7 separate regions of the Homo sapiens genome follow, and all the other regions are linked to region 3. The links are contacts of gene promoters, found by promoter capture Hi-C in blood cells and fetal thymus (Javierre and others, 2016). All regions are on one chromosome and are shown on one strand. The core of a region is centred on a gene start or on the middle of the fragment in contact, and the rest is flanking DNA. Distances in the headings are between cores, read along the strand shown. Region 1 overlaps TRIM38 (tripartite motif containing 38). Region 2 holds the start of H2BC3 (H2B clustered histone 3). Region 3 holds the start of H1-5 (H1.5 linker histone, cluster member). Region 4 has its middle 4.6 kb from the start of H1-2. Region 5 overlaps LINC02980 (long intergenic non-protein coding RNA 2980). Region 6 has its middle 5.0 kb from the start of TRIM38. Region 7 overlaps H4C2 (H4 clustered histone 2).

Evidence for each region. Contacts are between HindIII fragments. The CHiCAGO score rates a contact against its expected background, and 5 or more counts as called.
Region 1: a contact is called between a fragment that was not itself captured here and the fragment with the promoter of H1-5 in region 3, in 2 of 17 cell types (monocytes and M0 macrophages). The highest score is 6.4, in monocytes.
Region 2: the fragment with the promoter of H2BC3 here is called in contact with the fragment with the promoter of H1-5 in region 3 in 17 of 17 cell types (non-activated CD4 T cells, erythroblasts, naive B cells and 14 more); the score reaches 73.1 in non-activated CD4 T cells.
Region 4: a contact is called between a fragment that was not itself captured here and the fragment with the promoter of H1-5 in region 3, in 5 of 17 cell types (erythroblasts, fetal thymus, M0 macrophages and 2 more). The highest score is 9.7, in erythroblasts.
Region 5: a fragment that was not itself captured here is called in contact with the fragment with the promoter of H1-5 in region 3 in 3 of 17 cell types (monocytes, non-activated CD4 T cells and M0 macrophages); the score reaches 6.5 in monocytes.
Region 6: a fragment that was not itself captured here is called in contact with the fragment with the promoter of H1-5 in region 3 in 1 of 17 cell types (non-activated CD4 T cells); the score reaches 6.7 in non-activated CD4 T cells.
Region 7: a fragment that was not itself captured here is called in contact with the fragment with the promoter of H1-5 in region 3 in 17 of 17 cell types (erythroblasts, fetal thymus, non-activated CD4 T cells and 14 more); the score reaches 48.7 in erythroblasts.

The regions. Positions count from the first base shown.
Region 1 is chr6:25,973,236-25,977,340 of GRCh38, reverse strand. TRIM38 (tripartite motif containing 38) reads right to left here. Exons shown (of 8, transcript NM_006355.5): 7 at 4,056-4,105. Among named protein-coding and RNA genes, the nearest start is that of TRIM38, 12 kb to the right of the region's middle. The HindIII fragment of the contact is 2,823 bases long and covers 1,275-4,097 here.
Region 2 is chr6:26,041,264-26,045,259 of GRCh38, reverse strand. It overlaps H2BC3 (H2B clustered histone 3), which reads left to right and starts at 1,547. Exons shown (of 1, transcript NM_021062.3): 1 at 1,547-2,033. The coding sequence starts at 1,603. The coding sequence ends at 1,983. It also overlaps the pseudogene H2AC5P. RefSeq lists an enhancer at 1,064-1,303. The HindIII fragment of the contact is 16,277 bases long and covers 1-3,996 here.
Region 3 is chr6:27,864,788-27,868,864 of GRCh38, reverse strand. H1-5 (H1.5 linker histone, cluster member) reads left to right here and starts at 1,277. Exons shown (of 1, transcript NM_005322.3): 1 at 1,277-2,073. The coding sequence starts at 1,336. The coding sequence ends at 2,016. It overlaps H2AC16 (H2A clustered histone 16), which reads right to left and starts at 3,548. Exons shown (of 1, transcript NM_003511.3): 1 at 3,067-3,548. The coding sequence starts at 3,510. The coding sequence ends at 3,118. RefSeq lists enhancers at 1,018-1,087, 1,348-1,457, 3,028-3,077, 3,368-3,457, 3,009-3,530 and 2 more. The HindIII fragment of the contact is 3,270 bases long and covers 1-2,292 here.
Region 4 is chr6:26,059,016-26,063,076 of GRCh38, reverse strand. No RefSeq gene overlaps it. Among named protein-coding and RNA genes, the nearest start is that of H1-2, 4.6 kb to the right of the region's middle. The HindIII fragment of the contact is 1,769 bases long and covers 1,112-2,880 here.
Region 5 is chr6:25,999,561-26,003,559 of GRCh38, reverse strand. It overlaps LINC02980 (long intergenic non-protein coding RNA 2980), which reads right to left. Exons shown (of 3, transcript NR_186645.1): 3 at 1,785-2,310. Among named protein-coding and RNA genes, the nearest start is that of LINC02980, 8.9 kb to the right of the region's middle. RefSeq lists an enhancer at 3,407-3,999. The HindIII fragment of the contact is 819 bases long and covers 1,898-2,716 here.
Region 6 is chr6:25,955,872-25,959,644 of GRCh38, reverse strand. No RefSeq gene overlaps it. Among named protein-coding and RNA genes, the nearest start is that of TRIM38, 5.0 kb to the left of the region's middle. RefSeq lists a cis regulatory region at 671-975. The HindIII fragment of the contact is 2,095 bases long and covers 400-2,494 here.
Region 7 is chr6:26,023,157-26,027,128 of GRCh38, reverse strand. It overlaps H4C2 (H4 clustered histone 2), which reads left to right. Exons shown (of 1, transcript NM_003544.3): 1 at 1-233. The coding sequence ends at 188. Among named protein-coding and RNA genes, the nearest start is that of H4C2, 2.1 kb to the left of the region's middle. RefSeq lists enhancers at 1-73, 94-153, 184-233, 1,174-1,468. The HindIII fragment of the contact is 1,208 bases long and covers 1,753-2,960 here.

The DNA.
Region 1 (4,105 bases), core at 1,437-3,936, 1.9 Mb after region 3:
AGTGGCGTGATCATAGCTTACTGCAGCCTCGAACTCCTGGGCTCAGGAGATCCTCCTGCCCTAGTCTCCCCAGTAGCTGGAACTACAGGCATAGCACACGGGGCTAATAAAATTAATTAGGTGATAAAATTCACTGCCCACTGATGACTAAGCTCTTTGGACATAAAAGACACAGACCTTGAAGGAAAATGTGTCTACTTAATTTTGAAACCCTATTTATCAAAAAACAGGATGAAAATGCAAAATGCCATCCACATGCCAGAAGATATCAGCTATAATAAGTTCCCATAAATCAATAAGGAAAAGAACCCAATAAAAATTATTAAACCACAGTAAATCATGGGTAAATCACAGAGGCCTGAAGGGCTAATGGACATACAAAAAGAATCTCAATCTCACTAGTGAAATCAGAAAAGCACAAATTAAGTACACAATTAGGTACCATTTTAAATCTGTAAGACTGTCAAAATCATAAATTATATAAGTAAAGACTCAGGGAGTTTTGGAGGAGTGAGAGCTCTTATATTGCTTGTGGGGTAGAATTGGAACAATTTCAAGATCTGTAGTATCTGGTAAAATTATGATATGCATCCCTCACACCAGCATGTCACTCCAAGGTATCTCCCTGGAGGGAACATTTACGGGACACAAGGAAGCATGGATAAGAATGTTCACAGTAGTATTGTCTGCAACAGCAACAACAACAAAAAAACCCAACTACACACAACTTCAATGCCCAGTCCACAAGGCAATGGATTAAATAAACTTCAGGCCGGAGATGGTGGTTCATGCCTGTAATCCCAACACTTTAGAAGGCCGAGGCGAGAGGACTGCTTGAGCCCAGGAGTTCAAGACCAGCCTGAACAAAATAAAGAGATAGTGTTTCTACAAAAAATTTTTAAAAAATTAGCCAGACGTGGCAGTGCTTGCCTGTGGTCCCAGCTACTGGGGAAGCTGACGTGGGAGGATTGCTTAAGCCCAGGAATTTAAGGCTGCAGGGAGCCATGATGGGGCCATTGCACTCCAGCCTGGGTGACAGAGTGAGACCCTGTCTAAAAGAGATAAGTAAATAACAACTTTGCATTTTCTGCCACATTGCAAAATGGTGAGAGAGTGGTTTCTAGACTCTAGACTCTTTCTATGACTACCTTCTAGTTATGAGATCCTACAACACTCACCTAACCTCTCTGTGTCATATTTCCTCCTCTATAAAGCAAAAATGCCCCATATAGAGAGGACTGTGATATAAAACAAGAACCAAGAAAAGTAAAGCTTTTCTAATCTGTCACAGACTAAAGAGTGCTCAGTATATGTGAGTCATTATTCCTGGTGCTGGTAGGAGTGTATGTTACAACTTTGAGTCAAGTAATATGGTACCATATATTAAGATTAACAACAACCTCGGCAATCCCAGTTTGGGGTATGTTCCCAAAAGAAATGAAAGCACCAGGATATAAGGATGCATGGACTAGAAAGTTATTGTAGCAACATTGTAATAACTAAGTTCTAAAAACAGCCTGAAGCTCCATCAGTAGGGATATGGTTACATATATTTATTATATTCTTATGGAATATTAGACATAAAAAGTAACGAGTAACATAGAAGAGACAGTGTATATATGTTACGTTTGTACAAACTTAGGGAAAGATATAGATCACCCTACCTAGAGAAGTCAGATTGGAGACGGGTGGGAAAAACCTTGAACTTTCTCCTTATATCCTTTATATTGTTTGACTGATTAAAATGTATTTGTTGCATCTGCTTGAAGGCAATGTAAAATAAAATAAACATACATTTAAAAATAAAAATAAAATTTATTCCTATCACTTTTGTAATAAAGCTGGGCACAGTGACTAACACTTGTAATCCTAGCACTTTGGGAGGCAGAGACAGGCAGATCACCTGAGGTCAGGGGTTTGAGACCAGCCTGGCCAACATTGTGAAACCCCATCTCTACTAAAAATACAAAAATCAGCCAGGCATAGTGGTGCGTACCTGTAATCCCACGCTACCCGGGAGGCTGAGGCGCTGGAACCCAGGAGGCAGAGGCTGCAGTGAGCTGAGATTGCGGCACTGCAAGCCAGCCTGGGTAACAGCGAGACTCCATCTCAAAAAAAAATTTGAAAAAAGAAAAATTTTAATAAACAGTGTTTAAGAGGGGAGAAATATTTAGTTAAAAGATAAGCCCATTTAAGAAATAGTTTCACTTGACCCGGAAGGCGGAGCTTGCAGTGAGCCGAGATCGCACCACTGCACTCCAGCCTGGGCGACAGAGCGAGACTCTGTCTCAAAAAAAAAAAAAAAGAAAGAAAGAAAGAAAGAAATAGTTTCACTTGAACCATATTATGATTCCTTCTGTAAAAGATGAGAGTAGGCAAATTGACTCAGTGAAATCCCAGCAAAACTTACACAAAGTCTTGTTCTTCCTTCCTGTCATCTGTATAGGATGAAATACAGAGTGCTTTTGGGTTTTGTTGTTGTTTGTTGTTGTGTATTTGAGGGGAACACAGGTCTATAATTCCTTTTCTGAAATCCCTGGAACAAAATGGGCTTTGCCATTCAAATTAGTTTAGAAGTTATAAAGGCAAAAAAATGCATATACTCTAAAGTTCAACCCCATCATGGCCTAAGGCAGAGCCCTGTAATCAAATTCATCAATATATCTGCAGCAAAACATTTATTCAAATTAAGTGGGATAAATAAAGACTTTTAAATAGTCTCATCTCAGTGCCGTTCAGGGTTGGCCACTGTGGAAGACAGACTCAAGGGTGGCCTTCTATGATTCCTGCCTCTTGGTGTTCACACCCTCGTAAAATTCCTTGTCTTTGAGTGTGAGCAGGGCTTATGAATTGCTTCTGACCAATAGGATATGGCAAAGATGATGGGATATAATTTCTATGATTACGTTTCATTATGTAAGACTCCATCTTGCTGGCAGATTTTCTCTAAAGAGTCTGTCTCCTGAGCTCTCTCTGAAGAAATAACTGGCCATGTTAGAAGCCCATGTGCAAAGAGCTGAGGGGTGGCCTGTAGAAGCTGTGGGCAACCTCCAGCCAACAGCCAGAAATAACCAGGGCCAAAGTCCTGCAACCATCAGGAAAGAAATTCTGCCTGCTACCTCAGTGAGCTTGGAAGTGGATTCTTCCTTAGCCTAGCCTCCAGATAAGAACACAGCCTGACCAACACCTTAACTGCAGCCTTATCAGACCCTAAGCAGCAGGCCCAACTAAGCTGTGCCCAGATTCCTGAACCACAAAAATTGAGATAACATATCAGTGTTGTATTAAGGTTCTAAATTATGGTAATTTGTTTGTACTAATAGATAACTAATATAACCACCAAATCATTTCAGGTTAGGCCAGATTTTTGTAGCCAAATGAATCATGATAAAACTTTCCATTTTCAGGGGTTTTTTTGATTTTGTACTTACGGATACAAATTTGTGAAAGTATAGTCAGCACTGATTTAAAAAATCAAGGGAGCAGGAAACTCAGTAAATGGTTCTAACATTTTGGAATCTGTAAATTGGTTGTAACATTTGTCATCTGTGTTATCTAAGTCAAGTTCCTAAAATATGTGAATGATAGGTTATCATACTCACCTACTTTTCTTGCATTGCTCTAAGAGTTGGCTGAGCTATTGATAATAAACACTATGATCAGATCTAATACCATGATGTGCTATTATGATCATGTGTCAGTCACAGGGCTAAGCACTTTGTACATGTTGATGCATTTAATTTTGATGATAACTCAATGAAGTAGGAGCTGTTAATATTTTCATTTTTCAGAGGGGGAAACCAAGTCACTTGGAGTAACATGGCTAATAAGTGAAAGAATAAGAATTTGAAAGGTTTGCACAGATAACCAGAATGCAATGCTCATCACATTCACTGAGCAGTGAATCATACTAACTAGAGAAAGTATGAAAGCTCTACTGAAATTAACTAAACAACCTCTCTGGCTGTGAGCCTGCCAAGGGACAGGTGGTAAACTTGGTTACTGCATAAGGCCCCTTCTATCCACAGTATTCAGGAATTCTTTAGTGAACATACCTTGATGACTCCTTAACATTTTCTTCACATCGAAGTAAAGCTTGGAAACA
Region 2 (3,996 bases), core at 298-2,797, 1.8 Mb after region 3:
CTAGACAATCTTATTGGATGAGTTGCCCCACCGCCCATCCTGTCCTTTTCGTTTCAGTTATCTGCAGCGACAAATTGTCTAAAATTCTAGTTCATCCAGTCCCAAAGAACAGAGTGTATAACAAGGTATCTAAGGATTTTTAAAATGTAAATTCCGATTCAGTAAGTTTGAGTGGGACTTGAAATTCTGCATTCCTGACAGTCTCGCAAGTTATCAATGCTGGTGAACACTCACTAAACCACCAGAAACGTTCAGACTCATGTCGGGAAATAACGCTTATATTCAGAGAATGAGATTCCATGCTATTTTGTTACTGGCGAACAGCAAGTTTCCTTGCCCTTTGTTTTCTAAGTCCAAGTCACATTCCCACCCTGCCTGTTCTCAAAATGTCTTATTTTGGTTGGCCTTAAGTTTCACTTTGTATACTCTAAAATGTACTTTCTAAAGGAAGGTGTTATTTTCTCGAAACTTAACTTTTTAACACCATTAGGCTAGGGGGGCGGTGGCTCACGCCTGTAATCCCAGCATTTTGGGAGGGCGAGATGGGACGATCACTAGAGGCCAGGAGTTCAAGACAACCCTGGCTAAAATGGTGAAACCCCGTCTCGCATAAAAATACAAAAACTAGCTGGGCGCGGTAGCAGACGCCTGTAATCCCAAGTACACAGGAGGCTGAGGCATGAGAACCGCGTGAAGCGGCGGGGTGGAGGTTGCAGTAAGCCGATATCGCGCCGCTGCACTCCAGCCTGGGTGACAGAACTAGACTGTCTCAAAACAAACCAATCCAAACGAAAAGCAAAAAATACCCTAACAGAAGCAAGTTATCATCCTTTCTTGTGTAACTATGGACGGCTCTGAAAAATGCCGTTTCAAGTGTAAGCTACGTTTTCTGATTTGAGTGTTTACTTGACCTTGGCCTTATCGTGGCTCTGTTATTTTGGCAACAGGACGGCCTGAATATTGGACAGGACGCCTCCCTGAGCAATAGTGACGTTGCCCAGCTGCTTGTTGACCTCCTCGTCGTTTCGGATGGCCAGCTGCAGGTGGCGGGGGATGATGCTGCGGGTCTTGTCACGTATGGCGCTGCCCACCAGTTCTAAGATCTCGGCGGCCAGGTATTGTAAGTACACTGGCGCACCGGCTCCGACCGGCTCAAAATAATTGCCCTTTCGAAAAAGATGACGGACTCTGCCCTATTGGGAACTGCAAGCCCGGTAGCGACGAACAAGTTTTTGCTTTAGCTCCATTTTCCACGTCCGCAAATAGCGACCTATGAAAGCAGCGGAAAACTGTGAAAGACAAGCAAGCTGGAATGGCGCCTGAACAAATCCTTTTATACAAACTGCAAGGCTGCAATAGGAAGCTATCCTATTGGTCAATTATGTTTGGTGCTTTATCCAATAGAAAAAGATAACATAAATTCCATATTTGCATAAACCCCACCCCTCAGTGAAACCGTGTTTCTTTTGTCCAATCAGAAGTGAGGAATCTTAAACCGTCATTTGAATCTCAGGACTATAAATACATGGGCTCTGAACTGTTCTCTGTACTACTCTGTAGTGGAGAGTGTTAGTAGCTTTTCTATTCTGTTTAGGAATAGCAATGCCTGAACCCTCTAAGTCTGCTCCAGCCCCTAAAAAGGGTTCTAAGAAGGCTATCACTAAGGCGCAGAAGAAGGATGGTAAGAAGCGTAAGCGCAGCCGCAAGGAGAGCTATTCTATCTATGTGTACAAGGTTCTGAAGCAGGTCCACCCCGACACCGGCATCTCATCCAAGGCCATGGGGATCATGAATTCCTTCGTCAACGACATCTTCGAGCGCATCGCGGGCGAGGCTTCTCGCCTGGCTCACTACAATAAGCGCTCGACCATCACCTCCAGGGAGATTCAGACGGCTGTGCGCCTGCTGCTGCCTGGGGAGCTGGCTAAGCATGCTGTGTCCGAGGGCACTAAGGCAGTTACCAAGTACACTAGCTCTAAATAAGTGCTTATGTAAGCACTTCCAAACCCAAAGGCTCTTTTCAGAGCCACCTACTTTGTCACAAGGAGAGCTATAACCACAATTTCTTAAGGTGGTGCTGCTGCTATTCTGTTTCAGTTCTAGAGGATCAACTGGAATGTTAGCGAAGACAAGTTTTAGAGCCAAGGTTAACTTGGACGGGGCCGTGCGCGGTGCCTCTTGCCTTTAATCCCGGCAATTTGGGAGGCCGAGGCGGGCGGATCACGAGGTCAGGAGATGGAGACCATCCTGCTTAACACGATGAAACCCCGTCTCTACTAAAAATACAAAATAATTAGCTGGGCGTGATGGTGGGCGCCTGTAGTCCCAGCTACTCGGGAGGCTGAGGCAGGAGAATGGCGTGAACGCGGGAGGCGGAGCTTGCAGTGAGCCGAGATCGCGCCATGGCACTCCAGCCTGGGTGACAGAGCGAGACTCCGTCTCAAAAAAAAAAAAAAAAAAAAATTAAAAAAATATGAAGTTTTGAAGCAGAAATTATTTTGTCGTATGTTCTTTCATAAATTTTTTGCCTGCCTGCCTTCTTCCTTTGTTACAGAACTCCAACACTTACCCAAAGGTAGCTGTTGGGTCAGGGTTTCTGTACTATAGTCCCTTCTGTGGTGGCCAGAAATATGTTACAGGAAAGAGGTCCCCATCCAGACCCCAAGAGAGGGTTCTTGGATCCCGCGCAAGAAAGAGTTCAGGGTGAGTCCGCAGTGCAAAGTAAATGCAAGTTTACTAAGAAAGTAAAGTGGTGAAACGACAACTACTCCATAGACGGAGCAGGACATTCCCGAAAGTAAGAGGAGGAAGGCATCCACCCTAGGTACAATACTTGTATATATGGGGAGATGTGCTCTGCTACAAGTTTGTGATAAAGGATTAATTTTCTTAGTTACTATATTTTGCAAGAATCAACATTATTATCTTTAAACAAAATTAAGAATGCCTTTGTTCTCCAGATATAGGGATATCTGGACACTCCTAAGTCTGAGTCTGTTTAGTAAACATTATTTATTTGTTCCCTTAACCGTAAACATCTAGAAGCTAGGAATGACTGACTTTCTGGGAATGCAGCCCAGAAAGTCTCAGCCTCATTTTCCTAGCCCTCACTCAAAATGGAGTTACTCTGGTTCAAGTAACTCTGACACTTTTCTTCTCTTTTTTTCTTCTTTTTTCCTTCCTTTATTTTTTATTTTTTATTTTTGAAATAAGAAATCAAGAATACTTGATGTTTCATCTAAAACAATACCCATAATTGATAAGCCAAAACAAAAACCTAGGTCTTCTAACTCAAAACTAGGATGTTTTGCTGTCTCTGCTGATACTCGGCTGATCGTTAATAGGTAATTAACAAACAAGCCTTGCTATGTCCCCCTCAGTTTATTACCATTAGATCATATGCCTACTGTCAATCATATTAATCCACAACTATGCATTTCACAAAACTTGCCATAAAAATTCACAGGTTTCCCGCTTCCCTCGAGTTTTCATTTCCGAAGGGTCCCATGTAATATAAAACTTATATTAAATACATTTGTATGCTTTTCTCTTGCTAATCTTTTTTTTTGTTTTTTGAGACTGAGCCTTGCTCTGTCACCCAGGCTGGAGTGCAATGGCGCGATCTCGGCTCACTGCAACCTCCGCTTCCCAGGTTCAAGCGATTCTACTGCCTCGCCCTCCCGAGTAGCTGGGACCACAGATACGTGCCACCATGCCCCGCTAATTTTTGTATTTTTAGTAGAGACAGGGTTTCACCGTGTTGGCCAGGATGTTCTCAATCTCCTTACCTCGTGATCCGCCCGCCTCGTCCTGCCAAAGTGCTCGGATTACAGACGTGAGCCACTGCACCCGACCAATCTGTCTTTTTGTAGAGGGGCCTCAAGCATGAACTTACTGATGGGTGAGAAAAACAGAATTTTCTTTTCCCCTACAATATAAACATTAATTGTAATGTTATCATTCAGGACATTTTGGTGACCAATCTTACAGAAATTT
Region 3 (4,077 bases), core at 28-2,527:
ATTTTCTTGCACAGCATTTCAAGAATGAGAAATAAGTGACTGTTGATTTCATTAGGAATCCAAATCATCATTTGATCATTTTTATCATCCAGGCATCCTGTCCAATCCCCTCCACCTCCCATAAATTGTAAACTTCATTTATTTCAACCTCAGTGTATTTGCCTATGTTTTCCTGAGTTCCTCTGAACCTCTATAATGTGAAGTCGCTCAATATCCAATCCAACCTTTTCACAGTCAATAGCCAGATATTCTTCTAAAATATTAGCGCTAAAACACACAAAAATACCCATATTGATGTATCCTGGCTGCTCATAGAAGAGAGTATTCCTGATGGTGCAGCTTGTTAAATGTGGGTGGAGATTCAGGGGGAGCAGTGAGAACATTTCGAAAACCTGACAGTGTCCTGGGCCACCTAAACAGTTTGTGCATTTGAGGATCACTGGGAGCTCTTGAATAATTTTCCACAAGTTTGAGTTTTCTCTAAACTGAATTATCTATATTATTTTTCTTCCCCTTTTTTAATGGATTTGCCCAGGAACTAAAAAGAGAAAACACTCTAATTAGAAAACATAACACATTTAAGTTTGAATGTGAATCTGAGTAGTTAGATCCTTAAGTCAAAGCGATTTGTATTACTGGTGCTGCAATGCAGAAGAAGTCACTCTGACTGTGGAACTCTTCCAAGCTGCAAAATCCCATTCTGTAAAGACATTAGCACATGGAAACTCCTAGGACACAGAACCAGTTTGTAAAGTCAAGTCTATGTGGTTAAGTTGGGGCTGTAGGCAACCAGCTGTCCTGTGCCTGTGTTACTTGCTACAGTTAGAAACAAACTTCATGCCCAAACCAAGGAACCCAGTGTCTTTTCTCTTGCAAAAATCAAAGCATGAACTCATGGGCAAATTTTTAAAAATAACTTTCACTGGATACTTAGTAGAAATTTATCGCGACACGCTACTAACTAACATGATGCCCTCAGCCCAATGGATTCTTATGAAAAGCTGAAGGGATTTTTTAAAATATCTTTCATCAATTGCACAAGATTCTTGAAAACACAAACAAGTATGTGAACCTGGAGGCTGTTTTCCTCCTTTGGAGCTTCAAAGTGCCAAATTCTGTACCATTGTTTTAAGCATTTAATCAAATTTTGAGGACTAACAAACACAATTTGGGAGTCCAACCGCGAGCGGCGGCGGCCAGAGGGCGGTGGATTGGACGCTCCACCAATCACAGGGCAGCGCCGGCTTATATAAGCCCGGGGCCCGAGCATAGCAGCAACGCAAAACCTGCTCTTTAGATTTCGAGCTTATTCTCTTCTAGCAGTTTCTTGCCACCATGTCGGAAACCGCTCCTGCCGAGACAGCCACCCCAGCGCCGGTGGAGAAATCCCCGGCTAAGAAGAAGGCAACTAAGAAGGCTGCCGGCGCCGGCGCTGCTAAGCGCAAAGCGACGGGGCCCCCAGTCTCAGAGCTGATCACCAAGGCTGTGGCTGCTTCTAAGGAGCGCAATGGCCTTTCTTTGGCAGCCCTTAAGAAGGCCTTAGCGGCCGGTGGCTACGACGTGGAGAAGAATAACAGCCGCATTAAGCTGGGCCTCAAGAGCTTGGTGAGCAAGGGCACCCTGGTGCAGACCAAGGGCACTGGTGCTTCTGGCTCCTTTAAACTCAACAAGAAGGCGGCCTCCGGGGAAGCCAAGCCCAAAGCCAAGAAGGCAGGCGCCGCTAAAGCTAAGAAGCCCGCGGGGGCCACGCCTAAGAAGGCCAAGAAGGCTGCAGGGGCGAAAAAGGCAGTGAAGAAGACTCCGAAGAAGGCGAAGAAGCCCGCGGCGGCTGGCGTCAAAAAGGTGGCGAAGAGCCCTAAGAAGGCCAAGGCCGCTGCCAAACCGAAAAAGGCAACCAAGAGTCCTGCCAAGCCCAAGGCAGTTAAGCCGAAGGCGGCAAAGCCCAAAGCCGCTAAGCCCAAAGCAGCAAAACCTAAAGCTGCAAAGGCCAAGAAGGCGGCTGCCAAAAAGAAGTAGGAAGCTGGCGTGTGAAAACCGCAACAAAGCCCCAAAGGCTCTTTTCAGAGCCACCCAGAGACCTCTAAAAAATGGCTGTGCACAACATGTTAGATCAGGCAGCAAGATTCCTTGCATTCGAAAAATCTCGGGCAGTTCTCCCTCAACCCTAATCGAGTAACGCAAGGCAAGCAAGAGTCCAGGGTGTTGGTTGGACTCCCCACGTAGTTTACCCATGCAGTCTGTTATTAGAGTATGAATTCCAGCCGTTGGTTTTTGTTAAGTTGGTGTCAAGCTTTTTGTCAGACGCCTAGCTACAAAGAAGCTTCTTATATTTTAAAAAGCCCGCTCTATAATCTGATTGGCCAGTTTTTGTTCCATCATCTGTATGTGGTTTTTCCGCGTTTAAGCCATTTAGGCACCAGCTACTTCGGCGTCACTAATGTGTTCGGCATTAATATAATATGCTATCAACGCACAAGACAATATAGTAGCAAGTTTCAAGATGGGGTCTCTATTACATGCCAATTTGATATGACCGTGTCATTCTGTACTGGATTATTTTTTTTTCCTCAAGTCAGGTTCTCGCTGTCACCCAGGCTGGCGTGCAGTGGCGTGGTCTCGGCTCACTACAGCCTCAGCCTCCCCGGCTCAAGGGATCGTCCCACTTCAGCCTCTGTGAAGTGCTAGGACTAAAGGCGTGCACCACCCCGGTCGGCTAATTTTTGTATCCGCTATGATGCCCAGGCAGATCTCGAATTCATGAGCTCCAGCGATCTTCCCGCCTCAGCTTCCAAAAGTGCTGGGATTACAGGCGTGAGCCACTGAGCCTGGCTCTGGATTTTTTTTTATTGGTTCTAGTTCATATAACACGAGATGAATAAACACAGCGAACATTCTTGTAAGCCCTACATTAAATAACTAGTTCACATTCTGACTTAAACATGTCACCTGAATCCTGTAAGGTTTTTCCTAAAAGTCATTCCTAAGCTCTAGATGAAAAATGCTTTATCTTTTCATAACAAACGTTCCAAATGTTTAACCAGTGGCCCAGCTCTCCCGCAGAAATAGTAGGTGGCTCTGAAAAGAGCCGTTGTATTGGAAAGTGATTCTATGGAGACATTATTTGCCTTTGGCCTTGTGGTGACTCTCGGTCTTCTTGGGCAGTAGCACAGCCTGGATGTTGGGCAGGACACCACCCTGAGCGATGGTTACTTTGCCCAGCAGCTTGTTGAGCTCCTCGTCGTTGCGGATGGCCAGCTGCAAGTGGCGCGGGATAATGCGGGTCTTCTTGTTGTCGCGGGCGGCGTTGCCCGCCAGCTCCAGGATCTCGGCAGTCAGGTACTCCAGCACCGCCGCCAGGTACACCGGCGCGCCGGCCCCGACCCGCTCAGCATAGTTGCCCTTGCGGAGCAGTCGGTGCACTCGGCCCACGGGGAACTGGAGACCGGCACGAGAAGAGCGGGTCTTGGCTTTGGCGCGAGCTTTGCCTCCCTGCTTGCCGCGTCCCGACATGACGAAGAAACGATAAATGGAGGAACTGAGAACAGCCGAGAGAAGTTCACCAGAGCTCCACTACTTATAGTCAATACTGGGCGCGAAAATAAAGCTGTGCCATTGGCTCAAATTACAGTTTTATTTCAACCAATGGAATCGCTGTTATGAAACATGCTTCTTTGGATTGGACAAACGTGTATATGACGTCATCTAGAATCGCCACCAGTCCTACACACTATTTTATTAATCACCTCATTTGCATAAGAATTCGTGAACAGGACGTTACAACACACAGCTTTTTCTTCTTCTTCTTTTTTTGTTTTTTTAAGACAGGGTCTCCCTCTCGCCCGGGCTGGAGTGCGGTGGTACGATCTCCGGTCGCTGCAACGTCCGCTCCTGGGTTCAAGTGATTCTCCTGCCTCGGCCTCCTGAGTAGCTGAGATTACAAGCGTCAGCCACCATAGCCCGGCTAATTTTTGTATTTTTTAGTAGAGACAGGGTTTCACCATATTGGTCATCCTGGTCTCAAACCCCTGAGCTCAGGTGAGCCACCTGCCTCAACCTCCCAAAATGCTGGGATTAAAG
Region 4 (4,061 bases), core at 747-3,246, 1.8 Mb after region 3:
TTTAATCCTCACTGTATTTCTGGGAGTATTATTCCCATTTTACAGAGAAGGAACTTGGCAGGGTAACCAAGCTCATGAATGGAGAAACTGGGATTAAATATAAAGCTTCCTTGCTCCAGAACTGCTGTCTTTCTGCTCTTCCACACTACCAGCTCAGCTGTGCTCTCTACATGCAGGCAGTTTTACAAGTTTCAGATTAGCCTGGGACTTCCAGGGTTTTGAATGGGTTAGGGAATGGGGAACTTTTGGGTTTACTTTCCATTTTTTCTTCATACATATGTAATATATAACATAAATCTATGGTATATATGATAAATATATGGCTACATATGAACTATATAATCACATATATGCATTATAAATAAATATTAATTTTATAATATTTTAAAGGTTATCAAATAAATATTAATATAAATAATTAAATAATTAATACTCAGCTTTGTTTTCCAAAGTGATAAATGCCTATATTTAGCAAAATATTTTTTGGAGGCCTGATAGTTTTTAGGAGTGTAAAGAAGTCCTGATATCTAAATGTTTAAGAACCACTATTTTAGGCTGTTGTCTTCTGTCTTATTTTCCCAGCTAGACTGGTAAATACTTGAAGGCAAACGTTTAGCCAGCACATTAACATTTTATGTTTTTATTCTTTTGTGCTCTCAGTGGCTGTGTCTTTTCTATCGATTTCTCACACTGTATGATGGTTATATTTGTCTGTATCTGTCCCACCAGGTATAAGTTCTTGAGAGGACACACTGCTAGGCTGATCTTAGTTTTTATTATTTCTCCTGGTGTCCTGTGCTTAACAAGTGCTCATTAAGTGTGTAAAAACACAGCACAGTAAAAAACTAGACATTAAAAAATAATGTCAACCAATCTATTGAAATTTGCATTTCCATGTTTCTTCCAATATAGTCATTGTGTCAGGTTATGTACTTATTCTGATGAAGACTATTGCCTAATATACGTTTGCATCTTGTGCTTTATAACTGCCTTCATATAGACACAGATTGAGAAGGTGTAAAAATGTGCATATCCTCACAATTGACAAATTCTTATCCTTTGAGGGTAGGTTTGACTTTCTGAAATGCTTTGACATCATTTGAAAGAAGCTTGAAGAATAAGATAGCTGTTAATGACCCAGTTTCCTATGTCACTTATACAATTATAATGGCAATTTCAAAATGTTAGGTAAATATATTTTGCAATATATTGTTCCTTTTGTAATACTCTCTATGTATTTATTTATATTTTTAAATTTTATATTTATGTATTTATTTTTCTGGACAGAGTCTTGCTCTGTTGCCCAGGTTAGAGTGAAGTGTTGTGATCATAGCTCTCTGCAACTTCAAACTGCTTGGCAAAAGTGATCCTCCTGCCTCAGCCTCATGAGTAGAGTAGCGGGAACTACAGGCGCATGCCACTGCACCCAGCTAATCACTATTTATTATGCTCCTACTGTGTGCTTTAGTATATTTTCTGTTGTTTTCTGCAACCCATTTTGAGGGCGTGTTAGGGAATACAGATGCAGTAACTTTCGTCTCAGCCCTTGAGGTGAGGAAATATTTAGCCTCAGGTTTAATCTAATTGTTGGCCATTTGCCTTCAAAGATTGAAATATGAGCAAAACTGTGGCTCTGGGTTATATGTTAAAAAAAAGTTTATGGGGCTGAAGCCAGGCAACAGACAAGAGCCCCTACAATCTTATTTAGGCTGAAAATATCCTGGAGTCCCTGTATTGTTGGTCTCAAGCAGATAGCAACACTAACACTTACTCTTTGAGGCAGGCACTGCCAGTGGGGTGGCTGTTATTATTAGCTTCATTAATTGGTGAGTCAGGAAAAAACAGCTTTAAATCATTCAAAGTTCTGGCCTATACAGGATTTAGTAATATTAGGTTAGCTACATCCAAAAGATGACAGAACCCTACTCTAAGGCTGGGCTTGGTGGTTCACACCTATAATCTCAAAACTTTGGGAGGCTGAGGCAGGAGGATCACTTGGTGCCAAGAGTTTGAGACCAGCCTGAGCAACATAGTGAGACCCCTGTCTCTATCAAAAACAAAGAACTCTAATTGGCATAGTAGAAGGAAAAAGTGAAAGAAAAACCAGCTGTCACCCTCATTCCTTACACCTGTCCTAACAACTCCTCTCACTATCCTTTGAATATATCTTGGCTGTTTGAGTCTCTCTCTAGCCCCATTACTGCTGTTTGGACTTGACATTTTGCTCTGCATTTTTAACTTTTCTACCAGGGTTTCCAGACCCTGAAGAGTGTGGCATGAAACAAAACTAGTCAACCTATAATATTTATGATGTGTGTGTAAATAAAAGAATACACAATATATTGCATTACAATATTTTAACTGTGTCCTCAATTTGTTTGTGGCTTTCTTGAGGACATCAGTTTTGGGTGGGACGACCACATCCTTAATCTGAACTTTCCCTTGGAGGTCATTCTTTTTTTTTTGAAATAGAGTCTCGCTCTGTCACCCAGGCTGGAGTGCAGTGGCGCAATCTCAGCTCACTGCAACGTCCGCCTCCTGGGTTCAAGTGATTCTCCTGCCTCAGCCTTCCAAGTAGCTGGGATTACAGATGCACGCCACCATGCCGAGCTAATTTTTGTATTTTTAGAAGAGACGGAATTTCACCATGTTGGTCAGGCTGGTCTTAAACTCCTGACCTCATGATCTGCCCACCTCAGCCTCCTAAAGTGCTGGGATTACAGGCGTGAGCCACCCCGCCCGGCCAGAGGTCATTCTAATAGACTTTTTTTTTGTTGTTGCTCACAGGCTTGTTCAATCTTATTTCAAAATTTGAGAAATACAGTTTCCATGGAACACCAACCAGATATCAGGTTGCTATGGAGTTGATAGTCAAAAGCTTTGTATCTTCCAGTTTTTCAGAATGGCTTCTAAAGGTTCTGATTCAGAGCTCTTAGGCGAAATTGAACAACCAAGTGTCAAAGTACAACATTCAGGAAGTTAAAAACATGACTGACATATATGTACTATATATAGTGAGCTTGTGTATGTGTCAATGAATGATTTAATTCATTAATGAAGGAGGAAGCAGAATCACAATTAGGTCAAAGGAAGATACGGGAGAATAAAATATGTATTTGGTCAGGGAAAGGATGTATACTGGAAGAGGAAGGGAAAATCAGATATAAAGTTGTTTAATGACTTATTAGGCAATACAATAATAACTTTTAGGGTCATTTTTTCTATATTAAGAATTCATTTCCATCTCTATGACAAAATCCTTATTAATTTATTAAACTTCTACAAGTGAATGTTTACTTTTAGATAGTCTGGACCCAATAAAATGTAAACATTAAGTCAGAGTTACTTTCACGTAGGACAGTGTTGTCCAATAAGGTACCACTAGCTACACGTGATCATTGACCATTTGGACTATAGCTAGACTGATTTAAAATGTTCTAAAAGTGTAAAATACACACCAGGTTCTGAAGATTTATCATTTAAAAAAGAATGTCAACTGTCTTTTTTTTTAGCTTATTTATTATATGTTGAAGTGATAATAGTTTAGATATATTAAGTTAAATAAAATATCTTAAAATTAATTTTACTTGTTTCTTTTCATTCTTTCAATGTGACCACTAGAAATCTGGAAAGTATTTATGTGATTCACATTCTATTTTACTGTCTAGTATTGCCTTACATCATCAGGTACCCCATAAGTAGGCTTTTTAGATAATTCTCTAATATAGCTTGGAAGGATATGGAGAAATATTTTTGCGTTGCTTTTAAGTTTTGCATAACTTTTTCAACACACTTTATAAAGGATCTAGAAAAGGGTTGGTTACATGTTTCTCTGTCTTCTGGCCTCCACCATGTTGCCAGGAGGTTGGGGACAAGATTCTGGGTGGCTGGATGTCCTAATGGCTTGAGGTCTGGACTTGAGATTTGCATATAAAGAGATGTGATTAGATTGAGTCGACTAGAAAAATCATATTAGAGAACTGAATCACAGCGATTAAATTTACATGTCGATTTATAAACCAGGACACCAATTTATAGTGAAAGAAGGTCCAGTTACCTGG
Region 5 (3,999 bases), core at 1,058-3,557, 1.9 Mb after region 3:
CTAGTGCACCTAGAGTCTACTCCAGAATGCTCATGGAGAAAGTTTCTGAAAGGTAAAACTCTGAATGATATTTGTAGCTAAAGGGAGACTTGCTAGAGACAATAAGCTAATAGTTGTAGACTTCAGTAGAAGAGGAATGACACTGCAATGTCAGGGTGCAGGACTTCAAGAGGGCAGAGTATGGAAACCCAATGGGAAAAATGCTCACCAGGAACATGAAGAGAAGGAATTACGTGTAAGGATTTCTCAATGTGTTCCCAAATTTGCCCAGCAGAGGGAGGCCTCGGGTTGATGGCAGGCTGACCACACAATTAAAGAAGGCTGAACCTGGGGGCTTTTAACAACCATCGTGGGCTCTACTGTAAGCATTTAGAAAAAGAAAGTTATCCATTCAAAAATATATATATTTTTAAACTTCAGAACAAAATTATGAAGAGCTATATTTACTTTTCTACATTCTAATTTTTATAAATCTGAGTATATTTTGCATATATTGTTATAGTACATATTCAATTTTGTATTTTGCTGTTTTCACTTAACCATTTTTACTAGATTACTCTGTGTTCATAATAATCACTTTTTTAAAACTTTTATTTTTATTTATTTATTTTTTTTTTGAGTCAGAGTCACACTCTGTCGCCCAGGCTGGAGTGCAGTGGCGTGATCTTGGCTTACTGCAACTTCCACCTCCTGGATTCAAGCAGTTCTCCTGCCTTAGCCTCCTGAGCAGCTGGGATTACAGGTGTGCACCACCAAGCCCGGCTAATTTTTGTATTTTTAGTAAAGACGGGGTTTCACCATGTTGGTCAGGCTGGTCTCCAACTCCTGACCTCATGATCTGCCCACCTTGGCCTCCCAAAGTGCTGGGATAATCACTTTTTATGCTGCATAATTCTTCAGATTTGTCAGTACGACTGTATTTACACTCATTTGTTTTATTAGAAAGAATTCCAGAATATTTTGGCTGCCCTAATTAATTTTACAATTAATATGATTTTGAAATTGGGTATTGGCTCCTTCTGAATTGGTTTATTAAAATATATTCTAATGTAATTTATGACATTTTCATCATATTAGCATATTTATTCTGTTAGAATTTCATAATTTATAAAGCTACAAACTGTATGTGATATAGCTTGTAACTTTATCTCATAACTTTATGCAGTTACAAGTAGAAATAAAATGTTCCCCTCAAGATTGCTTAAAATTTTATTATAAACAAGTGTAAAAAACAAAATCACTAAAACACTCCCTCTTTTTTCCCCCAAAATGCATGTTTCCATTTTAACAGAACCCGTATTTAATCAGCAGATTTCTATGGTGGCTAGATTTGTAGACTAAATATTAAAAGTCCCAAAGCAAATGCATTTTTCTCTTAAATTTTACTGACTTTTTTTTTTTTTCTTTTTCTGAGACGGAGTCTTGCTCTGTCGCCCAGGCTGGAATGCAGTGGCACAATCTCGGCTCACTGCAACCTCCGCCTCCCGGATTCACGCCATTCTCCTGCCTCAACCTCCCGAGTAGCTGGGACCACAGGCGCCCGCCACCACGCCCAGCTAATTTTTTGTATTTTTAGTAGAGACAGGGTTTCACCGTGTTAGCCGGGATGGTCTCGATCTCCTGACCTCATGATCTGCCCACCTCAGCCTCCCAAAGTGCTAGGATCACAGGCATGAGCCACCGCGCCCCGCCTACTGACTTTTATCCAAAGAAAATATAAGAGCTCTTCATCATAACGTATGTTTCTTGCTCTTGTTATTAAATATGACACATTTAGACTTAAACTGATTTGAAGGTTTATGACATTGTTTAAGTTATTACATAATTAATTCATAAAGATAATGACTAGTTTGAACTACTGACAGCTCACACATCATCAGTTGAACAGCAGAAAGCTTACTAAGCTACTTTCTTATGTTTCTGTCTCCCAGCTACTAAAAGAAACGAAACCCTTCCAGGTGTTAAGGCAAAACTTTCCTCCCCCTTTCTTCTATAAATCTGATTCCATGTTAGTGAAATTTCTACTGATGGCTTTGGTTTCCTCTATAGTAGAATAGAGATCCTATGGCAAAAGTCATGTCTGACATGGTAGCAAATAGAAATGGGGAAAAGGAAGGTCTGCAAGAGCCAATGTGGGAAATGGGGAGAGGACTGACTACAAAAACCCAGCAGGAATTCCAGAAGAAAACTCCTCAGGACGGGCACATTGGCTCATGCCTGTAATCCCAGTACTTTGGGAGGCCGAGGTGGGCAGATCACTTGAGTCCAGGAGTTTGAGACCAGCCTGGTCAACATGGCGAAACCTCATCTCTACAAAAAATAAAAAAATTTGTCAGGCGTGGTGGCATGCACCTGTAGTCCCAGCTACTCAAGAGACTTAAGTGGGAGAATCACTCGAGCCTTGGAGGTGGAGGTTGGTGAGCCGAGATCACGCCACTGCATTCCAGCCTGGGCGACAAAGTGAGACGCCATCTCAATCAATCAGTCTCCTCGAAAAGCAACATTATGGAGAGACAGGATTCCGTCAAGGCCTGGGGCACACAGGAAAATATTAAGGCAGAAGAGAGTTTCCTCCCCACACCACACCGTATCCCACAGGCACTGCGGATGTGCATATGCAAGAGGGGTTGATCCTAAGAATTTAGAGTCACAGAGGAGGAGGCACCAAGCAGACTGTGGAGAAAGTCATGACCAGAAAGGGACAGAATGTAAAGCTTCAGCTGATTATCTGGCCTCAGGGATTCCAGAGGAACTGGTCCCAATGGTCTCCTGGTGATGTAGGTTCTTAGGTTTCTTTTACAGGGGTTTTCTGGGAGATCGTTGACCCAGTTAGCATTCAAGCAACTTCCACCCTGCACTTTTATTCTTTCCCCTTCACCTGCTTAGGTTTTATCTGTCCAGGAAATAATAATAAAATTATTGAGCCCTGGACATGTACCTGTAAAGCTCCTTAAAGATGATGCCTTCTAACTCCTCATTCAACAGATACAAAAACATTACAATAAAATGACTCATGCAAGACACCCAGGTAGTTTATAGCAGCTAATAAAAACAGAATAACTATAAAATATGGTAAGTTTATAAAAGTTACATTGAGTATACTTTATAAGAACTGCTTATTGAGTTTGCCTAATAACCACACAGCACAATAATAATATGTATATATTTTTAAATATGTGTAAATATGTGTAACACAAACTTGTAGAAGGTATATCTGAGTACAACCCTATTCTGTTTGGTTACCTTTTCTAGTTCATTATGTAAGTGGCATAGCTACCTAAGGACTTATGCTTATAAATGTTACTCAAAAAAATACAGAGGACATATGTGGATAGATAATGGAAGAGATAAGATAGGTAGGTTGAAGGGTTGGGCTGCCCCTCCACACCTGTGGTTGTTTCTCGTTAGGTGGAATGAGAGACTTGGAAAAGAAAGAGACACAGAGACAAAGTATAGAGAAAGAAAAAAAGGGGTCCAGGGGACCGGTGTTCAGCATACGGAGGATCCCACCGGCCTCTGAGTTCCCTTAGTATTTATTGATCATTATTGGGTGTTTCTCGGAGAGGGGGATGTGGCAGGGTCAAAGGATAATAGTGGAGAGAAGGTCAGCAGGTAAACACGTGAACAAAGGTCTCTGCATCATAAACAAGGTAAAGAATTAAGTGCTGTGCTTTAGATATGCATACACATAAACATCTCAATGACTTGAAGAGCAGTATTGCTGCCAGCATGTCCCACCTCCAGCCCTAAGGCAGTTTTCCCCTATCTCAGTAGATGGAATATACAATCGGGTTTTACACTGAGACATTCCATTGCCCAGGGACGAGCAGGAGACAGATGCCTTCCTCTTGTCTCAACTGCAAAGAGGCGTTCCTTCCTCTTTTACTAATCCTCCTCAGCACAGACCCTTTACGGGTGTCGGGCTGGGGGACGGTCAGGTCTTTCCCTTCCCACGAGGCCACATTTCAGACTATCACATGGGGAGAAACCTTGGACAAT
Region 6 (3,773 bases), core at 198-2,697, 1.9 Mb after region 3:
GATACATAGTTTGTGTTAGTGTGATGCATGTGATGTGGTATGTGTGTGCGTGTCCATACATATTAGGGGTGGCGGGGATGTTAATATGTCAAATGGTACTAGAAAGTATCAGAACTCATGGTGCTTACTGGTTTCCCAGAGAGCTGCTTCTCTCCCACCTGTAGGATATACTGATGGTTTGGACAGAGAAGAAATAAAAAGAAGGCTGTGACCTACTGGGCTGAGGAAATAAAAACGAAAGTAAAAGAAGAGCTGGGAAAAGAGAGTGGAGGGGCCAAGGGAAATTTCCCCTTTGGCTTCTGGGGAAACTTTGCTGAAAAATCAACTCACAAATTTATTAACATGTACACAGGGAGAACCATAGAATGATTATCCACTTCCCAAGAGGGCTTAAAAGCTTATATATTATCCTGGCAAAACAGATTATGGGAGGGGAAGAAGAGAAACTCTGTTGATGGGATTACTGTTGCGGATTTTTGCTCCTTCGCTCAGCTAGGTCCGGGTTTTTGTCTCACAGCCAGGAAGAATTAGGCATGCAGCCATCAAAGAATGAGTGGAGTAGAATTTATTAAGTGAAAGGAAAGCTCTCAGCAAAGACAAGGGTCCTGAAAGCAGATTTCTGGTTTGCTCTTCACAGTTGAATACTAGGGCTTAAGACTCAAATTCCTGACAACTCCACCCTGTCCTACCAGTGCATGCAGGCCTTTAGACTGAGCTACTCCATATTGATTAATTTCCTGAACTGTGCATGTGTTAAGGAAAGGAATCATCCACTGCAGGCATGTTTAGGCAAGCCCCCTGTGCAAGTTCCCTTATCTGCACAAAACATCCGGTGTAAGCACTTGTGGGGCAGGTCAGAGGTTCTCTGGGTACCATTCCCTTACTGTCTGCCTAAAGCAAGCTGGCCAACTCCTTTCATTACTAGGGAGAGTAAGTAGATCAGGGAACAGAGATTAACTTGAACATTATCTTGTGAAAGTCCGTTCGGGCATGGTTACATTCTTGGTCTTACAGGAAGGGTAAATAAAAATAATTGCTCTTTTTGGTGGGTCTGGATCTTAGGTAGATAAAGAAACTTTAATTCCACGATGTGTTTTGGTAGGGATAGTTGGTGGCAGGGATGTCAGAGAGACTTTGAGGCTTCTTCAGTTCAATATGACCAAGGGCCATATATTAGGGTATCAATTTCTGAGCCCCAACAAGAGCTTAGGAGAGATGTGATAGCATCACAGTGTGAAAGCAATTTTTTGTTTGTTTTTAGAGACAGGCTCTTGCACTGTCACCCTGGCTGAAGTACAATGGTACGATCACAGCTCACTGTAATCTTGAACTGGGTTCAAATGATCCTCCCATCTAAGCATTTCAAAGTGTTGGGATTACAGGCATGAGCCACGGTACCCAGCCTGAAACTGCACCCACTTTCTGATAAACTTTTCAAATGACTAAAGGGGAGAGAGTAAGCACTACTCAGAGGTAGGAAGAAAGGACACAGGATTATAGGATTAAAACAACAACCACCAAAAAAAACCAGACCGGTGTGGTGGCTCACACCTGTAATCACAGCACTTGGGGAGGCTGAGGTGGGGGGAGTCACTGGAGGCCAGGAGTTCGAGACGAGCCTGGCCAACATAGCAAGATGCTGTCTCTATTAAAAAAAAAAAATACCTGCCTTGAGCTAATCAGAATCATGGACCCTGACAAAGGATGTCCCAAAGTAAGTCTTAGCATTTTTTTTTTTTTTTTGAGACAGTCTCGCTGTGTTGCCCAGGCTGAAGTTCAGTGGCGTGATCTCGGCTCACTGCAACAGCTGCCTCCCAGGCTCAAGCAATTCTCCCTGCCTTCAGCCTCCCAAGTAGCTGGGATTACAGATGCCCACCACCACGCCTGGCTAATTTTTGTTTTTTTTAATAGAGATGGGGTTTTGCCATGTTAACCAGGCAGGTCTTGAACTCCTGACCTCAAGTGATCTGCCCACCTTGGCCCCTCCATAGTGCTGGGATTACAGGCGTGAGTCACTGCACCCGGCAAAGTCTTAGCATTCTTTACAAACAGTTTGTACCCGTATCTCTAAAAGGGAGTAGTGAATTTCACCCCAAAATGTGGCTTCCTGATATAATGAGTATTTTGAATGAAAAACTCTTAGAGATCAACAGACACTAAAGAGACTTTTCCCTAGGTACATAAAAATAGGATGGCCCCACCAGCGAGAACAATTGTTCTTTTCTCCCTCTCTGTTATCTCATTGTGCATTATAGGAAAGACCAAGAATGTAACCACACCTGAACAGACCCTTTTATAAGATAATCAGTCTCTAAGCATCATTTAAATTCCAAGGAGAACTATTTACAAATTTATCTGTTCTTTGATCCAATTAGTCTCTCCTGGTAGTTACATATTGCCCCTCAACAGAATTCCTCTTCTTCTGTTTCCCATAACCTATTTTGCAAGGATCAAGCCCCTGTTATTTCTTCAACTTCAAGGTGGCATATAAGCTTCTAAATTCCACTGGGATATTGGTACTATGTGCATGAGGAGAACCACAGAGTAATTAAATTGTAAAGCCTTTTATCTTATGAATCTGCCTTTTTTTGTGTTCATTTTTCAGCAAAACTTCCAAGGGCAAAGGTATAAAACAAAAATAAAATTCTAAAGCCCCCCAACCATCTGAATAGACTTTCTCTTCAGTCAGGCTTCTTAAAATGTAACCTGAAAGACTGGCTCAGGCCATTAAGGGAAGTGGGGGTTGAACATGCCTCATTATTCCTCTCTGGCATTAACATCAACACAGCTTTTAAGTCTGATAAGAAACATTTTACAACCTATTCTCTCTGAAGCCTGCTAGCTAAAAACTTCATCCCATAGTACAACTTTGGTCTTCACAACCTGTTATCACAACCTAGTGCTCCTTTCTATTAATCCCAAATCTTTATACAAACTCAACCAATTGTCATCACCTCCACCCCACTCCTCCGCTGCTTCCAGTTGTCCCGCCTCTCTGGACCAAACCAGTGTACATTTCTTAAACGTATTTGATTGATGTCCCATGCCTCCCTAAAATGTATAAAGCCAAGGTGCATCCCAACCACCTTGAGCGCTTGTTCTCAGGACCTCCTGAGGGCTGTGTCATGGGCCATGGTCACTCAAATTTGGCTCAGAATAAATCTCTTCAAATGTTTTACAGAGTTTGGCTCTTGTCATGACACAGATGACTGCTTCACTGAAGCCTGCTCTGGAAGTGAGTGGGGGTTTTGCAAGGATAATTTTCCCCGGATAGCCCCAGAAGCAGCTAGTAATAATACACTTAAAGGTAGCTAAAATGCATTGAACACTTGTTTTGTGCCAGACCTATGTCAACATTTGCTTTGTGCCAGGCTTATGCCAGTACTCCTGATTTGTTAATACATTCTAAATAAAAATTCTGGAGTTTCAAATATAATAACTGAAAAACAGAAAATAAATAAAAATATATAATAACTGAAATAAAAATTTACTAAGGCTGGGGATGGTGGCTCACTCACACCTGTAATCCTGTTACCGGAAAGGGGTCCGTCCAGATCCAGACCCCAAGAGAGGGTTCTTGGATCTCACACAAGAAAGAATTCGGGCGAGTCTGTAAAGTGAAAGCAAGTTTATTAAGAAAGTAGAGGAATAAAAGAACGGCTACTCCATAGGCAGAGCAGCTCTGAGGGCTGCTGGTCGCTCATTTTTATGGTTATTTCTTGATTATGTGCTAAACAAGGGGTGGATAATTCATGCCTCCATTTTTTAGACCA
Region 7 (3,972 bases), core at 1,107-3,606, 1.8 Mb after region 3:
GTGGGGTTAAGCGAATTTCCGGTTTGATTTATGAGGAGACTCGTGGCGTTCTCAAGGTGTTTCTGGAGAACGTGATCCGGGACGCCGTGACCTACACGGAGCACGCCAAGCGCAAGACTGTCACTGCCATGGATGTGGTTTACGCGCTCAAGCGTCAAGGACGCACTCTGTACGGCTTCGGCGGTTAATCTTTTCGTCAGTTTTCTTCCAATGGCCCTTTTCAGGGCCGCCCACTCCCTCTCAGAAAGAGCTGTGATTGTATTCTTTCGGATGGTAACATCTCAATGGCTTTACTCGGCTATTCTGCCTAGTATGTAGAACTATTATAAACCAGTTGGGAGAGACCAGGTTGTTTGGTCTGAGTGGCTGCTAAAGCAGAAATCAGCTAAGTAAACGAGGTCTCCGAGATAAGTGAGCTATAAACTTCAATGCTATAGTTTTGACATGTCAAGCAACTTAACGTGCAGCGCGAGTCCGATAAATGAGTAGCTCAGCTTTTTAGTTTTAAAAACGAGTTGTGCGTTATTTGTACGAGAGCCTAAGATGCTAGCTGCCTGGAACTGAGTAGGTGGATTAAAATGGGTGTCAGGTCTGTTTTCCCAGGCGTATCTGACTTAACGTCAGCAAAAGCTGTACTTTTAGCTTCCCTGGTAACACCTGCCGTCCTTAACCGCCCCCTGCCGGTAGCGCCAGAAGCCTTTACTTCCATTTCTAGTTGAGCTTGGCGTCCTGCTGAGTGACGTCACCTCCCCCTTCTCTGGAGTAGGACTGGCGGTTAAAGCTGCTTTGCTATTTTCAGTCCTCAGGCTGGAGGCTCCCCTAAGCAGGCTGCCTACGCAGTTCGTAAATTCCCACTTAGTAGACTAAGGGAGTCTGTTTTATAAATAAGGACTCAAATTTCTTCTGACTCCGAGGTCCGTGGCAGCAGCTATAAGATGGAAGCCCCCTCTGATGTAAGATTCTCAGATGACTTGCATCTTCACTGTACCTGTCAACCCAATAGTCTTCTATTCCTGCCTTAAATTGTAAATTCCAAAACTGATTTAATTGTGAAAGTTTCAAACTGTACGACCTAGGAAGTGTCAAAGTTAGGTGACCAGATTTTTAGAAGTCAGCCAAATATTCAGCATCTTTGATTTAGTAACAAATATATTGATGGCTACTTCAGCAAAAAAAATCAACTTTGTTTTCTGGTTACTTTGCTAACAAGCTTCTCCTGACAGGAGGATATAGTGAATAGGCAGTTGAATAAGTGAGTTCGGGTGAGAGGTCTGAGCTGGAGATAAAAATGTGTGAGTCATCAGCAGATAAATAAATGCTGAGACCAGATGAGATGGCTAAAAACTGAAACATAATGTAGTGCAGCATTGTTTGTAATAGTAAATGAGTGGCAACTGTAAAGTTTTCATCAGAAAGGACTAGAGTGATCTATACATCCATAAAATAGAGTATTTCTCTACACAGCCCTACTAAAGAATGAGAAAGCTGTACTCCACTACATACTCTGGTGTACTCTGGCTCAGTTCTTGGACTCCTCTTTTCTTGGCTAACTCAACTGGCCTCACCACTTACATGCTCTGTGCTCTGTCAAATAGTTTGTTCAACAGAACACCACGGCCTAGCTGTAAGTGCCACGTTAACTTCTAGCAATGCCAAAGCCTGTGATAGTGGCAGCTTCGGGCTGTTTCTCATTCCCGGGATGCCTAACCACCTCTCCAAATTCTATCAGTTTGCTTCCACCCACTTCAAGCTTCAGAACGAAACATAGAGCTTAAGAAATATAGGCCCGGCAAGGTGGCTCACGCCTGTAATCCCGGCACTTTGGAAAGCTGAGCCTGGTGGATCACCTGGGGTCAGGGGTTCGAGACCAGCCTGGCCAATATTGTGAAACCCCGTCTCTACTAAAAAAAAAAAAAAAATTAGCTGGGCATGGTTGCGGGCGACTGTAATCCAAGCTACTCGGGAGGGTGAGACAGGAGAATAGCTTGAACTCGGGAGGCAGAAGTTGCAGTGAGTTGAGATCGCGCTATTACACTTAGGCCTGGGAGACAAGAGTGAAACTGTGTCTCTAAATAAGTGTTTGCAATTATAAACCATCTCCCTGACCTTAAATCTCTAGACTCATATACAACTGCATATTTGATGTATCTAATTGAATAATGGGCATCTCGAACTTGTCCAAAATATGTTTATACGTAAACACCAAGTCTGTTCTTCCTCTGATATTTGTCATGTCAATCAATAGAACTCCATTCTTCAAGCAGCTTGGGCCAGGAATTGTGCAATATTGTTTGTCCTGAGCTTCTTACAACTTTCACCCAATGCAGTCAGCTCTGTTGAAAATCAATCAGAATACCTTTCATTGTTTTCTTTGCTGCTTCTCTAGGAGCAAGCTGCCATGGCGGTTTGTCTGAATGACCACAGTGACCCCAAACTGGTCTTTGTTTTCACTTTTAATCCCCCTGTCATACAGTTTTTTCTCTATCCAGCATCAACAGTGATCCTTTTTGAAGGTATTATGTCCACTGTCTGCTGAAAAGATTCCACTGGCTTTCCATCACCTTCATAATAAAAACCAGCATCCTTATCATAGCCTACAAGTAAGATGACCAACCATTACAGTTTGCCTGACTCTCAGGGGTTTCTCAGGGTGTAAGACTTACAGTGCTGAAACTTAGAAAGTTCCAAGCAAACTAGGATGAGCTGCTCAACCTACTAGATCTGTACTCTGGCTACCCTCTGACCTCATTCTCTTCGCAGTTCTTTCTCTTCACTGACCTTGCTGTTTCTGGAATGGACCAAGCATTTCCAGCATCAGCACCTTTATATCTATTCTTTCTCCCTAGAAGGGTCTTGTCCTGGATATCTGAATGGCTCTAGATCTCATTTCATTCAAGCCTCTCCTCAAATACCAACCTTACGAAAGAGACCTCCCATAATCATCCCTTGTAAAATAAGCTTTTCTGCTCATTTAGCATATATATATATAGTTGACTATCCTCAATAGCATATATATATAACATTTCCCCACCTAGAATTATATATGTAATAATATATTTAACAAAAAATACATATAACTAGATATATTTTATTTTGTGTTTGTTCTCTCTCCCCCAACTGGAATATATTTTTTGAAGGTAGGGACTTTGTTTTGTCCCAGAAGTATCCCTAGCACCTTGAACAGGGCTGACGTTTAACAGGTAGTTTATGGAGGTTTGTTGAATGAAAGGATGTGTGAATTTTCTATGTAAGTCTCCAGGCTCTCCACTAAGCCCACCAGAATGCTAACACAATCAATTCCCCATCTCATTCCTTGACCTGCCACTGCCTGAAGCAATCAGCGTGCAGTTTCTCTTTAGAAAATCTGGGGGATAGTCTAGGGGTTGCAAATTAAGCAACATTATCTTTGTTCTGAACAAGGACTGCATGAGTGTTAGGACTGAAGAAGGCCCAAGGTGGTGGTGGGTATGCCTAAGATGAGTATGACATATCAGCAATGCTATGAACATAGCAATGCTATGAAAGGCCAGGCAAAACGTAACAGGAGCTAGTCGTGGCTTATTGTTACAACGACTATACCTCCCATATGGGTAATCGATATCCACACACCCCTCTACATTGACTCTGGAATTCAGGAAAGGGAATTAAAATTTTCTAACTTATGTACCCCAATGATTTCAACAATATCTGGCATATGAGATCAATAAATATCTTTAAAATACCAACTAAGAAAGACATAAAATGACCCACCCTCCATACCAGGCTCATTTTTGCTCCTCTGATTCCTGAAACTATCCAGAATGCAGCTATGAATTCTCTCCATTGTCAGTTTTAAATTAAGCCAAGCTGGGTACTTGTGTAATTCCTCAAGAAATCCTGGATGAAAACTGTCAGGTGGAAAACAGGACCTCAAAATAAAGAGACATCCATCACTGAAGCTAACATCGTGAGGCTGAAATCAGTCCTATAACA